Linked DNA regions of Homo sapiens: regions 2 and 3 are each linked to region 1. The links are contacts of gene promoters, found by promoter capture Hi-C in human tissues and cell types (Jung and others, 2019). All regions are on one chromosome and are shown on one strand. The core of a region is centred on a gene start or on the middle of the fragment in contact, and the rest is flanking DNA. Distances in the headings are between cores, read along the strand shown. Region 1 holds the start of CBLN4 (cerebellin 4 precursor). Region 2 has its middle 50 kb from the start of CBLN4. Region 3 has its middle 44 kb from the start of CBLN4.

The links. The method cuts DNA at HindIII sites, captures the fragments that hold promoters and counts their contacts. A contact is called where the count stands out against the background at its distance.
Region 2: a contact is called between a fragment that was not itself captured here and the fragment with the promoter of CBLN4 in region 1, in 2 of the 25 tissues and cell types used here (dorsolateral prefrontal cortex and spleen).
Region 3: a contact is called between a fragment that was not itself captured here and the fragment with the promoter of CBLN4 in region 1, in 8 of the 25 tissues and cell types used here (H1 embryonic stem cells, bladder, dorsolateral prefrontal cortex and 5 more).

What each region holds. Positions count from the first base shown.
Region 1 is chr20:56,003,834-56,008,185 of GRCh38, reverse strand. CBLN4 (cerebellin 4 precursor) reads left to right here and starts at 2,667. Exons shown (of 3, transcript NM_080617.6): 1 at 2,667-4,305. The coding sequence starts at 4,015. The HindIII fragment of the contact is 15,736 bases long and covers 1-4,352 here.
Region 2 is chr20:55,953,454-55,958,229 of GRCh38, reverse strand. No RefSeq gene overlaps it. Among named protein-coding and RNA genes, the nearest start is that of CBLN4, 50 kb to the left of the region's middle. The HindIII fragment of the contact is 3,484 bases long and covers 378-3,861 here.
Region 3 is chr20:56,047,595-56,052,132 of GRCh38, reverse strand. No RefSeq gene overlaps it. Among named protein-coding and RNA genes, the nearest start is that of CBLN4, 44 kb to the right of the region's middle. The HindIII fragment of the contact is 4,295 bases long and covers 1-3,708 here.

The sequences.
Region 1 (4,352 bases), core at 1,418-3,917:
GGAAAAATACAAGAAAAAGAAAAAGAAAAACAGATCTATGCTGTGGTTGGAGAGAAACTTAAACTTGATCTTGTTTCTTTTCTCCTGGGGATGCTGGGGCTGAAGTAGGGGGTGAGGAACAGGTGATGCCTCCTTTCCCAAAATGTTGGAAAAGCATTTCCTACAGGCAGGAGATTGGATTTGTTAGTCTTTTGGCAAGAGATCCATAGCCTTTTGTGGTATGGTTTCTGGGACAATGTTCTAATGAGGATTCTGGATGACAGGGAGCGGTATGTTACTAAAACTAGCTCAAGGGAATTGGGTTTTTATTTCAAAGACATAGGAGGATACCAAGAAACCCAAGGTTAGGAGAAAATGTTTCTGGAACTCTTGTAAGCAAGAGTTCAGAACTGGCGATTGACTATTCACTCCCTGTACTTCTTAGAAGTGCTCATGCTCCAGAATTGGCTTCTTTCTACAAGTGTGGCCAGTCCTCTGGTTTATTCCAATACCTCTTCTGCTTCAGCTTGCAGATGACTCCTACATGGCCACGTCAGTTTGGGAGACTACAAACCTTGTCTCTGCCACATGTAGTGCTTACTGGAAGCTATTTTGATGTCTCATTAAGATTGCAGAGAGAAAATCTGGCAGCCCCAAGTCATCTGGCCAAGTTGGACCATACAAATCTTGGACTTCTGGTATCAAATGCATTGATGGTCCTAGAACCCAGGGGCTATCCGTGTTTAATCAACTGTTGTGGGAAAAAGAGTCAGGACCCTCTGATTCACAATATAAGATAACTTCTCTTAGCGGGGGTCCACAGAAAATGCTGTGTTCCTTATCTTCAGAACACTTTGAAGAGCAGAACATCCTTTAGTAAGGAACCGAGACCCTTATCCCCAATTATTAAGGAGGCTTTGAATTTAAATTTTACTGAGAGAGACTCATTTAAAGCAGTTTATACTATAATATGAGTGATAATTACCTTCTATTAGGAAGCATTCAGTCATTTCTCAATTATTGAGTCTTTACTATGGTCACTATGCAGATTTTGGGACTAAAAATGAATATTTTTGGTGAGAGAAAGAATAGGTTTCTTCAAATCTCAGTTCTTGCGTGCAGGAAGTGCCTGGAGAAGAAAAGGAGGTAGAGAGAATATATTGGAATTGGTGAGGAAGATAGCTTATTTTCTATTTAACAATTCAACACAGTTTTTTTTTTTTTTTTTTTTTTTTTTTTGTCAAACTTCTCCCAGCCTGAAATTGAACAACCAAAGTTCTAGTTATTGAACAGCTGTCCCAGACAAGGAAGGCAGGGTGCTTACCCCTACAGGAAATAAAAGGAACTAAATTCAACTCAGCACCCACCCTCAAAAGACTGCATCAAATGAGAAGAAATTGCTGCTGTTAACCAGGCAGACATCCCTAAAATCTGGAAGAGAGTTACAAAGTGCAGAGAGGGATCAGGTGAAGATTGTGCTGGGCTTAGGGTGGGGCATCAAAGCTGGGTAAATGGTGGCCATCTTCAGAAGGCACTAGTTCACCTTGTTTGGTTGTAGCTTAGATAGGTAACTTTCAACATTTTAACAAATAGCATGGTACTAGCACCTGCCAGCCGGAACTGACACCGGCCTGTAGTCTCAGCTACTGGGGAGGCTGAGGTAGTAGAATCGCTTGAGCCCAGTAGTTTTGCATCTAGCCTGGGCAATATAGCGAGACCACCCCCCACCACAAGTAAAATAAAATCATAAAGTCAAAACACCTGATACTGGCCCCACTGGAGCAGAATCTGAAGGCCCCTGTGGCACCAAGTATTAACACTTTAGTTGAGAGATTATAGGGAGGTGAGGGTTAGGGGATTCCTCGTAGTGTCTTCAATTTTAACAGTTGGAGCTGGTGCTTATAGCTCAATGCCCGGCCCTTCTGAAGGAAGGGAAAAAGGCTGGAGACGAGGTTCACCTTGTTTTGTGGAGGGCTCGAATGCCACGCTCATGAGGGCGTCCTTCACTCAGGAAGGAATGGGAGCCGTCCATCCCAAGGACCTCCCTCAATAAACATCCCTTCCATTCATAACTAGCCAATGCCATTTTAGGAGCTCCGAATGCCTGGAGGGGATACTGTTTTGGTTAAAGATACCATACGTGTCTGCCCTCTGGCAGCTGGAAGTGTAGAAGAAATTGGGGAAGGGGCGCCATGACCCCACAGCATCACAGAATTGGAAAGCTGGCGGGATGGGGGTGGGGAGGACCTTAGTTAACGCCGCGCCCCCCTCTCAGAGAGGGTTAGTGACTCGGCCAAGTTCACGCAGCCGGGTCCAGACAGAGACAAACCTCCCTTCCCCGTGGTAGCTGCAGAAGAGGAAGGGAACTCTTGCAAATCAGAGGCCAAGATAGCAGTGGAGTGGCACGGGGGCGGAAAGCGCATCCAAAGGGGAGAAAAATGCTGTATTCCTAGGAGTGGGATTGTCTTTTATTTTTATTTTTATTTTTATTTTTTTATTGTTGTTGGCACGGTTTCGGAGGACTTATTCTTGCTGAGTTAACTCCCTCTCCCACTCTTTTTTTTGGCCATGCCTGGGGAGGATTCGCGGTGTGGGGGGAAGGCGCGCCCCTGCGGCTTCTGAGGCTCATCTTCCCGGAGCGGAAGGAAGGAATCAGGCACCTCCTCCCAGCCGCCCCCACGGGCTCTGGTCCGCCCCAAGGCTTCCCTGAGCTCGCCAGGCCCCAGGGCTGTGTGGGGCGGGCTCCCGGCCAGGCGCGGTCGGGACGCCCGCCGGTCCCCAGGTTCGGGGCAGCGCGCAGCGCGGGTCCGCGGCGGCTTATCCTTTTTCGCGACCCGGCCTGGCAGCGCCGCGCTCCGCTTGGAGGGCACTCGGCGGCAGAGTTCCGCGCTGGGAGGGGTGAGGGGACCAGCCGCCTCCTCTGCGGACTCAGATCGAGCAGGAGAGAGTGGGCGCGGAGCTGGGGCCAGCGCAGGGCCGTGGGCTCCTCTCTGGGCACGCATCCTTTACGCCACGGGCTTTCAGGGGCTGAGGGGCCTCGAACCTTGCCAATCACCAGTGCTGTGCGCCCCGCTTGCTTTGGGGTGCGTTAAACGTCAGGAGAGAGCTGCTCAGATGGGGTCACCAGACGCCTTCTCCCCCTTTTCTCGGAGCCCGCGGGTTGCGCGATAAGCCAACCCAGCCGGACGCTGCGCTCCTATAAATAGAGCGCGTGTGCCCGCTTCGCGCTCTCCGGGCTGCACGAGGGACGAGAAAGTTGTGCGCAGGGACTGGGGGCGGGCGGCCAGGCAGGAGAGGACCCCGCCGGACCAGCCGCCCTGAACGCTGCGCCCGGCGCCCTGGACCTGATCCTGCGAATCCGCGCTTTCGGTGCGAGGGACCTGGCTAGCCGCTGCCTCCCTCCCTACCTCTGGGTGACACCAGGTTTGGGGGATTTTTTTGACCAGGCGAAAGTGGGAGTCGCTGGCGTCCTGGCCATGAACACAGCCTCGCGTTCTTCTCAGCCTGGGAAGGACCTTCTGCCTCTGTAACTCGTCCCTGCCGCAAGCCAGACAGGACTGGCACCCGCGCCGCTGGGCACCCGCCACCCTTGTGGCTTCTCTTTGAGTCCCCTCTTTTTGTTCCTGCTCCGTGGTTTAGCTGGTGGTGCTTGAGTTTGGGGTGAGAATTTATTATTATTATTATTTTTTGCCTTGAGGTGTGAATGTGAGGGTTTGATGACTTTCAGATGTCTAGGAACCAGAGTGGGTGCAGGGGCCCCAGGCAGGGCTGATTCTTGGGCGGAGGAGAGTAGGGTAAAGGGTGCTGCATGAGCTCCTTAAAGGACAAAGGTAACAGAGCCAGCGAGAGAGCTCGAGGGGAGACTTTGACTTCAAGCCACAGAATTGGTGGAAGTGTGCGCGCCGCCGCCGCCGTCGCTCCTGCAGCGCTGTCGACCTAGCCGCTAGCATCTTCCCGAGCACCGGGATCCCGGGGTAGGAGGCGACGCGGGCGAGCACCAGCGCCAGCCGGCTGCGGCTGCCCACACGGCTCACCATGGGCTCCGGGCGCCGGGCGCTGTCCGCGGTGCCGGCCGTGCTGCTGGTCCTCACGCTGCCGGGGCTGCCCGTCTGGGCACAGAACGACACGGAGCCCATCGTGCTGGAGGGCAAGTGTCTGGTGGTGTGCGACTCGAACCCGGCCACGGACTCCAAGGGCTCCTCTTCCTCCCCGCTGGGGATATCGGTCCGGGCGGCCAACTCCAAGGTCGCCTTCTCGGCGGTGCGGAGCACCAACCACGAGCCATCCGAGATGAGCAACAAGACGCGCATCATTTACTTCGATCAGGTCAGACCCGGGGGGAAGCGAGCACCTAGGGGGTGGGCGGTCTCCAG
Region 2 (4,776 bases), core at 870-3,369, 49 kb after region 1:
TATTTATCAAACATTGTAATTATGTCACTCCATTACTAGAAAAACCTCACATGTTTCCCAAGTGCCCATCAGTTGTAATTCCAAGTAGATAGCCTGGCATCTCACATTATTTTCAAAGTGGCTCCAGTCTCTCTTTTTTGGTCCTGTCTGCAGCCATCCTTCTCCCTGCTTCACATGCCCTTACCTGAAATGCACAGACTCTCATTCTTCCATATCTTTGCCCTTGGTGGTGTTTTTTATTTTGCCTGGAATGAAAAACAAAAACAAGATAACCACAAACCCATCCTTGTAAATTAAAATCTGAAGTCTTCTGAGAGTAGCCACAACTATGAATGCAGTCTTTACTTTGCCCTTACCTGAAAGAAGTCCTGTTAGAAAAAAAATTACCTACACCAATATCTCTAGAGAAGTACCAATTATGATGAGCAATTGATTCCTAGTTAAGCCAAGAAAATAATTTGAATATATAATAATGATGGAAATAGAGATTATCCCAGAGTGCTTACTACACACCAGAAACTATACACAGTCTTCTTCATGCATAATCTCACAATCTTAGGAGACAGGTACAGTGTGGTCTCATTGTATGCGTGGTTAACTTTCTGGTATTCAACTGTGAGCACTGTATGGGGTGAGTGGGGAAGAGAGGAGAAAGAGGAGAAGGGTGGGGGTGGGGGGAAGAGAGAAAAAAGAAATTTAAATTGTGCAGCTGATACTGCCAGCGATTCTAATTACTGCATTTGTATCTCGAATGAGCATGCAATGGAAGCTTATCTTTCAGTGCATTTAATCATCTTCAAGCATTTTATGCATCATTTTAGGACTTAAATATTTATACATTCCATACAGCATGGTTTCTATTTGTAAACTGCTACTTTAGTTGGGAATCAACCAAAGAAGCAGCAACTTGTTGCAGCACGGGAGGGAAAATCTACACTGGACTTGATGGGAGAGGTTCTTCATAGGTGGGTGACCACATGGTTTCTCATCCAAACTGAGGCACTTTTGACAGTAAGAGGATACTTTCAATAACTGTGCATGGATGAAAGACATAGAGTTGGACTGTGTCAGTCAGATTGGGACATATGGTCACCATTTATAGGTACATAAAGCAGTTTTCAAGGATAACTATGTTCATATTTGGCTTTCACCTAATGAATTTAGATTAGAACTTAAGCCCAACACAAAATGATTCCTCCATGCTGTTCATGATTCCCATCAGATAAATGAGGAAACTAAGTGTTAGTGGGACGAGGAAGCTTAGACATAGAGTGATAATATTATTCTAGGCAAATTATTGAGCACTTGCTGTGAGCAAAATCCCATTGTATCTCAATTCTCATCGTAACTGTGAGAAGTAGGTAATATTGTCCCTGTTTTACATGTAAGGAAGCTAAAATTTCAAGCAGTACCTTTCTCAAAGCCAGACAGATAGGAAGTAGTGGAATAAGAATTTGAATCCAGGGCAGAACACAGCTGGTGCTTTACAACTTGTTTCATACTGCCTCTTATAGGAATAACACCAAGGACAACCCCAATAATATTTTGTACTTGCTTGAGACTCTACAGTGTAGCAGTGTACTTCCCCATGACATGCCTTCTTAAAGCCTTTCATCAATGCTGTATGGTAGCCATGGAAGAAATCATCAGTCTTTTTACAGGTGAGGGTGCTGTGGTCAGGTCAAGCCTCTTGTCTCAGTTGCCCAGCTAGGAAGCTCCAGAACCAAGACTAGGATCCAGATTTTATTTCTAGTCCAGTGTACTTGCCATTTTTCAGCCTAGAATAGAGGTTATGGAATCCTCTGGAAGCCATGTAAGAAAGGCATGGATCATACCAGGACAGGAGAGCTTAGCTCCACTAGCTTGGTCATTGGGTACTGAGGGTCTGTAATGTTTTCCGTTCTTGAATTCATGGCCGAGTAGGGAATTCAAGTCAGACCCAGTTGTATGGGACAGAAATCCATAGTCAAGAGCCTAGCACTAAAGAGAAGTCAGCACTGGTGCCTGCCTCTGCCCTCATCCATAGAGTCTAATGTTTTCATCCAAATCTATCTTTTCAGGAACCAGTATATTCACAAACAACTAGGAGAAGGAGTATTGGTAGAGTAGTTGAGAATGAGGGCTCTAGACAGAAAGAGAGACCTTAGTTTAACTCTCAGCTCCAGCATTTATGCCTCCATAACATTGGGATTTCAAAATCATTGTAAACAGATGCCGGTTTTCAGGGGCAATGAAGAGTCTGTGTTTGGCCATTAATACCATAAAGACAGTGGTTCTTATGATTTCTCTCCACCTGAAGTTTTTTGAGTCATTTTGCATGTAAAACTTCATACTTAGTATGACTTATACAATTTATATAGTTATCCATTTATTTTAGAAGAGGGTACTTGACTGAGATTTGCATAACATTTGCCTGGACATTTTTGTACTGTCAGTTACTACCAGTGAAGGCTCACTAGTCAAAATCAATGTAACTGATTTAACATGACAGAGTACTATTTTTCTGAGCTTAAAAAGAAGGTAGATCAAGCAAGTCTAAAATGGGGCACTGAAAATCTTGATCACTGACACTATTATATTTTCCCACCAGCAGGGAAACTGGGGCCACACTAACAGAACCCAAAACAGTGGATCAATAAATGGCCAATCCAGTCCATGCACAGGAGCATATGGGGTGCCTGAACTATTTATAGTCATTCTCTGTCATTTTCTTCTGGAATTAAATGTCAGTGGGACATTTAAGGGAATCAATTTACATTTTAACATATTAGTTGAAAGGCAGGGAGATTCAAGGCAAATTTTGGTTATAATTTACTACGTTAAAACCTGAAGAACTGTGCTCAGGTTCTTTCCCTTAGAAGGATCTTAAAAACTTCATATTTTATGAAGTCAATTGACTTCATTGACTTCTCTGAGGTCCTGTGTATCTGTAATGACAATAGATTCTATGGCACGGTTCCCAAACTCTGCACTATGGTGCTCAGGGCTCCTGCGGTGAACTCTCAGGAGTGGGGCCATGTTTTAAATGTTGGCACCATGTAAATTAATAGGCACATATAGCCCATTAGCAATCAATTGTGGTTATTCAAGAATAGAATTATTATTTAAAAATTTCAGTTTATGACCAAATGTGGTGGCTCATGCCTGTAATCTCAGCCTTTGGGAAGCTGAGGCAGGAGTTTTGCTTGAGCTCAGGAGTTCCAGACCAGTCTGGGCAACAAGTAAGACTTTGTCTCTATTTAAAAAAAGAATCAGTTTATGTGATTTTTTTTTCAAATGGTTAAGATTTTTAGAACATAAAAACTTAATAATTTGTTTGGACCTAGTTACTTAGTAAATGGAACTATTAGGTATTTCTTTTGGCCTATGGGCTCTGTGACAAAATTACTGACACCTAAGGAGATGGAAAAAGCTTGGGAACCTCTGTCCTACAGTGGGTCAAGGGTAGCATCATGAGAAGATGAGATTGCCCCACACCTTTGCTTAGTACCCTCCTGTGGCTTCCCACTGTCCCACTGCACATAGCAAAGCAATGCAAACTCTCTCTCATGAGCTGCTAGACTCACCAGGCCCTGGCTCCTGCAGAGCCTTCCTATAGCTCTCCTTTTCATGCATTCCTCTGGCCACACTGGACTTACTTTTGCTCCTTTAACAGACTCAATTTTTCCTTGTTAAGCCCTTTTGCTCCTCCTTATGTGATATGATTTGAACGTGTTCCCCAAAAGTTGATGTGTTGAAAATGTAATTGCCAATGTAACCGTATTAAGAAGTGAGACCTTTAAGAGGTGATTGGGTCATGAAGGTAGAACCTTCATGAATGAATTAATGCCCTTATTGTGGGAATGAGTGAGTTTTCTTGAGTGCGAGTTGTTACAAAAGTGAGTTTGGCTTGCTTTTGCCACCTCTTTCACATATGCTGACTTGCCCTTCTGCTTTTCTGCCATGCTATCTAGAAGCACGAGGCCCTCACCAGATGTGGCTGCCTGATTTTGGACTTCCCAGCCTCCAGAACTGTGAGCTAAACAAACTTTTTTCTTTATAAATTATCCAGTCTTGGGTAGTGTGTTATAGCAACAGAAAACAGACTAAGACCCTATACCTGGAACAGCCTTTCCCCATCTTCTCAAGGTGGATGCCTTTGAATACTTCAAAAATCAGTATGACCTCTCCTATCTAAAGTAGGTAACTCCCTCCATGCCCCCACATCTTTCTGTCATCCACACATGCTATTTTTCCTATAGCTTTTAATAATGTTTGTAATTTAATTTTTTTGCTTGTTTATGTTTTCCCCCACAATGTGGACTGTAAGCTTCATAAAGGCAGTGCTCATGCTGATACTTTTCACTCTTTGCCTAGTTAGGGCTTTGTCCATAGTAAATACTCAAAATGTGTTTGTTGAATGAATATTCAAGGTCATATCAGGATCCCCAGTCTGTCACGTAGAAACATGACTATACAAGAGTTATTTTAAAGACTCTTATTCAAGATCTGATTATTAAAGAACTAGGTCTCTCCTCAAAGCAGGTCTGCAACATCCAGTTAGGTATCATACCTACTAAAAGTAAAGTATCTGTGTCTTATTTAAAATTAAGAGATGAAGAAAAGATGGCCCTCCAACCCAGCCTTTCTGCTCCTTTGCTGTCCATCAACACAGGACATGCTCCTTCCTGCCTTAAGATTTTTGCTCTTAATAAATCCCATTTATGCCTAGTGTTCCATTACTGGAATGCTAAGCATGTGGGAGTTATTTATATTCTACTGCTCAAGTAGAGTCTT
Region 3 (4,538 bases), core at 312-2,811, 45 kb before region 1:
TTTGCATGTGAGATGGGTCTCCTGAATGCAGCACACTGATGGGTCTTGACTCTTTATCTAATTTGCCAGTGTGTGTCTTTTAACTGGGGCATTGAGCCTGTTTACATTTAAGGTTAATATTGTTATGTGTGAATTTGATCCTGTCATTATGATGCTAGCTGGTTATTTTGCCCATTAGTTGATGCAGTTTCTTCATAGTGTCAATGGTCTTTACAATTTGGTAAGTTTTTTCAGGGGCTGGCACCAGTTTTTCCTTTCCATATTTAGTGCTTCCTTCAGGAGCTCTTGTAAGGCAGGCCTGGTGGTGACAAAATCTCTCAGCATTTGCTTGTCTATAAAGGATTTTATTTCTTCTTTGCTTATGAAGCTTAGTTTGGCTGGATGTAAAATTCTGGGTTGAAAATTCTTTTCCTTAAGAGGGTTGAATATTGGCTCCCCTTCTCTTCCGGCTTGTAGGGTTTCTGCAGAGAGATCCACTGTCAGTCTGATGGGCTTCCCTTTGTGGGTAACTCAACCTTTCCCTCTGGCTGCCCTTAACATTTTTTTCCTTCATTTCAACCTTGGTGAATCTGACAATTATGTGTCTTCGGATTGCTCTTTTCAAGGAGTATCTTTGTGCTATTCTCTGTATTTCCTGAATTTGAATGTTGGGCTGTCTTGCTAGGTTGGGGAAGTTCTCCTGGATAATATCCTGAAGAGTGTTTTCCAACTTGGTTCCATTCTCCTCGTCACTTTCAGGTACACCAATCAAACGTAGGTTTGGTCTTTTCACATAGTCCCATATGTTCCATATCTAATCTTGTCTTCACACTTTATTTTATTAAGTTGATCTTCAGTCTCTGATATCATTTCTTCCCCTTGATTGATTTGGATATTGAAACTTGTGTATGCTTCACTAAATTCTTGTACTGTGTTTTTCAGCTTCATCAGGTTATTTATGTTCTTCTCTAAACTGGTTATTCTAGTTAGCAATTTGTCTAACCTCTTTTCAACATTCCTAGCTTCCTTGCATTGGGTTAGAACATGCTCCTTTAGCTCGCAGGAGTTTGTTATTGCCCAACTTCTGAAGCCTACTTCTGACAATTTGTCAAACTCATTCTCCATCCAGTTTTGTTCCCTTGCTTGTGAGGAGTTGTAATCCTTCGGAGGGGAAGAAGCGTTCTGGTTTTTGGAATTTTCAAATTTTTTGCACTGGTTTTTCCTCATCTTTGTGTATTTATCTACCTTTGATCTTTGATGTTGGTGACCTTTGGATGGGGTTTCTGTGTGGATGTCCTTTTTGTTGATGTTGAAGCTATTCCTTTTTGTTAGTTTTCCTTCTAAGAGTCAGGCCTCTGTGCTGCAGGTCTGCTGGAGTTTGCTGGAGGTCTCCTCCAGAATCTCTTTGTCTGGGTGTCACCAGCAGAAGCTGCAGAACAGCAAAGTTTGCTGCCTGTTCCATCCTCTGGAAGCTTCGTCCCAGAGGGGCACCCACCAGATGCCAGCTGGAGCTCTCCTGTATGAGGTGTCTGTCAACCCCTGCTGGGAGGTGTCTCCCAGTCAGGAGGCATGGGGGCCAGGGACCCACTTGAGGAGGCAGTCTGTCCCTTAGCAGAGCTCAGGCACTGTGCTGGGAGATCCACTGCTCTCTTCAGAGCAGTGCTGGAGCTGGCAGGCAGGAACATTTAAGTCTGCTGAAGCTGCATCCACAGCTGCCGCTTCTCCCAGGTGCTCTATCCCAGGGAGATGGGAATTTTATCTATAAGCCCCTGACTGGGGCTGCTGCCTTTCTTTCAGAGATGCCCTGCCCAGATAGGAGGACTCTAGAGAGGCAGTCTGGCTACAGTGGGTTTGCCAAGCTGCAGCGGGCTCTGTGCAGTGTGCTCCGCTCAGTTCTAACTTGCTGGCGGCTTTGTTTACACTGTGAGGGGGAAACCATCTACTCAAGCCTTAGTAATGGCAGACACCCCTATCCCCACCAAGCTTGAGCGTCCCAGGTTGACTTCAGACTGCTGTACTGACAGTGAGAATTTCAAACCAGTGGATCTTAGTTTGCTGGACTCCATGGGGGTGAGATCTGCTGAGCTAGAGCACTTGGCTCACTGGCTTCAGCCCCCTTTCCAGGGGAGTAAATGGTTCTATCTCACTGGTGTTCCGGGCACAATTGGGGTATGAAAAAAAAAAAAAAAACACTCCTGCAACTAGCTCAGCGTCTGCCCAAACAGCTGCCCAGTTTTGTGCTTGAAACCCAGGGCCCTGTAGGCACCCAAGGGAATATCCTGGTTTTTGGTTGCAAAGACCGTGGGAAGAGCATAGTATCTGGGCCGGAATGCACCATTCCTCACAGCACAGTGCCGCTCGGCTTTCCCTGGCTAGGGGAAGGAGTTCCCCGAGCCCTTGTGCTTCCCAGGTGAGGCAACACCCTGCTTCGGCTCACCCTTTGTGGGCTGCACCCACTGTCTAATCAGTACCAATGAGATGAACCAGGTACCTCAGTTGAAAATGCAGAAATCTCCCACCTTCTGCTTTGATCTCGCTGGGAGCTGCAGACCAGAGCTGTTCCTATTCGGTCATCTTGCCAGCCACTCTCTCATATTCTTATATAGTTTGGGAATAATTTCCAGTTTTCTTACTAAGTGGTGTATTATCTACCTTGTAAAGGAGATAGCAGCAGCCTCTGCTTATTGATGGTGTAGAATGTTTAATATAAGTTCCATTAGTCTACAGTCCCTGAAGTAGAAGAGCTAAGGATATCTAACGACAAGAGATTAAATTAAGACAGACACTAACTCTTCGTTCTCCTAATGATCATTTTCTCAGTGTGAGTTGCTACTGTTTCAAAAGAACAAAGACATTATGTTTTCTTGCTCTTCCCACAGCCTGATCTGTAGCGAGATATTGCAGCTGGTTAAGGCTGATGCTAATGAGGCCCAAGGTCATAAACTTGATCCCTATCTAGGGCAATTAGTTAACCTCAAAAGAAAATCCACACTACCCCTTCCACTCTAGGCAGCCAGTTCACAATTCCTGACATGGGACATTTTGGGGCATGTGGATAAAATAACAAATTGTTGGTTTGCAGCAATATCAGATATTCAGTTTAACCGTTTTCCCATTTGCCCCAAGAATACTCACTGGTGGTGCTTACAGCTGCAGCATTTACCCCGAGATAACTTTGCCATGAAATATCTCGCTTTTATTATTATTTTCACATTGCTCTATATATTCACTTTGGAAACAAAAGAGACCATTCTATTTACAGCATTCTATTTTTAGTAGTAGTATTTCCATTTACAAAATATAGTAATTCTTGATAGCTGAAAATGTCAAATCCTAGAAAACGTAGCATTTCTTTTTTTTTTTTTTTTTTTTTTTTTTGTTTTGAGATTGGGTCTCTCTCTGTTGCCAGGCTGGAGTGCAGTGGCATGATCTCAGCTCACTGCAATCTCTGCCCCTCGGGTCCAAGCGATTCCCCTGCCTCAGCCTCCCAAGTAGCTGGGACTATAGGCTTGAGCCACCATGCCTGGCTAATTTTTTTTTCTATTGTAGTAGAGACGGGGTTTCACCATGTTAGCCAGGATGGTCTCCATCTCCTGACCTCGTGATCCATCTGCCTTGGTCTCCCAAAGTGCTGGGATTACAGGCATGAGCCAACGTGCCCGGCTGAAAACGTAGCATTGCTATGAGTGATGTTAACATTGTTCTTGAACAGTTGTTGACCGAAGATTCATTTGATGAATTAGATTTTTCTGAAATAGATGATTCTAATGATTCAGATGATCCTGATGTCAGTTCTGTTTAGAAATAACTCCAAGAATGGTTTTTATATTTTATTTTCACATTGAAAATCAGTAGGATTTGCTTCAGCCTCAAAGAGTGTGTTTATGTAAAATTAAATGAGTGCCAGCAGCGAGCTGCACTTTTTTTTTTTCCTAAATGGCAAAAGGGTTAAGTGCTGTGACACTTCCTTTCCTCCCATTTAGCAGGCATCACCAATTGATCTTGACAGTCTCTCCTACTGAGCTCAGACAAAACCTCAGAATCCATCTCAACACTGCGTTCTAGGTCAGAGGTCAGTAGATTATGGCCAGTCGGGCTAAATAGTGCTCGCTCCCTGTTTTCATAAATAAAGTTTTATTAGAACACAGCCCCTGGTTTATTTGTTTATGGGGCTCTGGCATTTCGCTGGCAGAGTTGAGTAGTTGTGATAGAGATCATATCTCACAAAGCCTAAAATATTTGCCATCTGGCCTTCAGAACAAATTTGCTGACCCCTACTCAAGGTGGTTATTGAATCAAGAAGAGTTGGCACATATTTATGTTTTATCCTGAGGTTAGGGAGTAATTATTCTCATGATAAAATGATTTTTCTTTTAGGAAATGATTGTATCCTCAAGAAGGGAGCTCCTTTAGTATATCTGCTATTCATTTTATAAATAATTAACTGTTTCTTTAATTTATTCTTAGCAGCAAGCATGGCATAGGATGTTGGGAAACTTTAGGTCAGTATTTACAAAGCTATGGCTTCTAAAAGAGACAAGAAGTTTTACAAGTCTTAG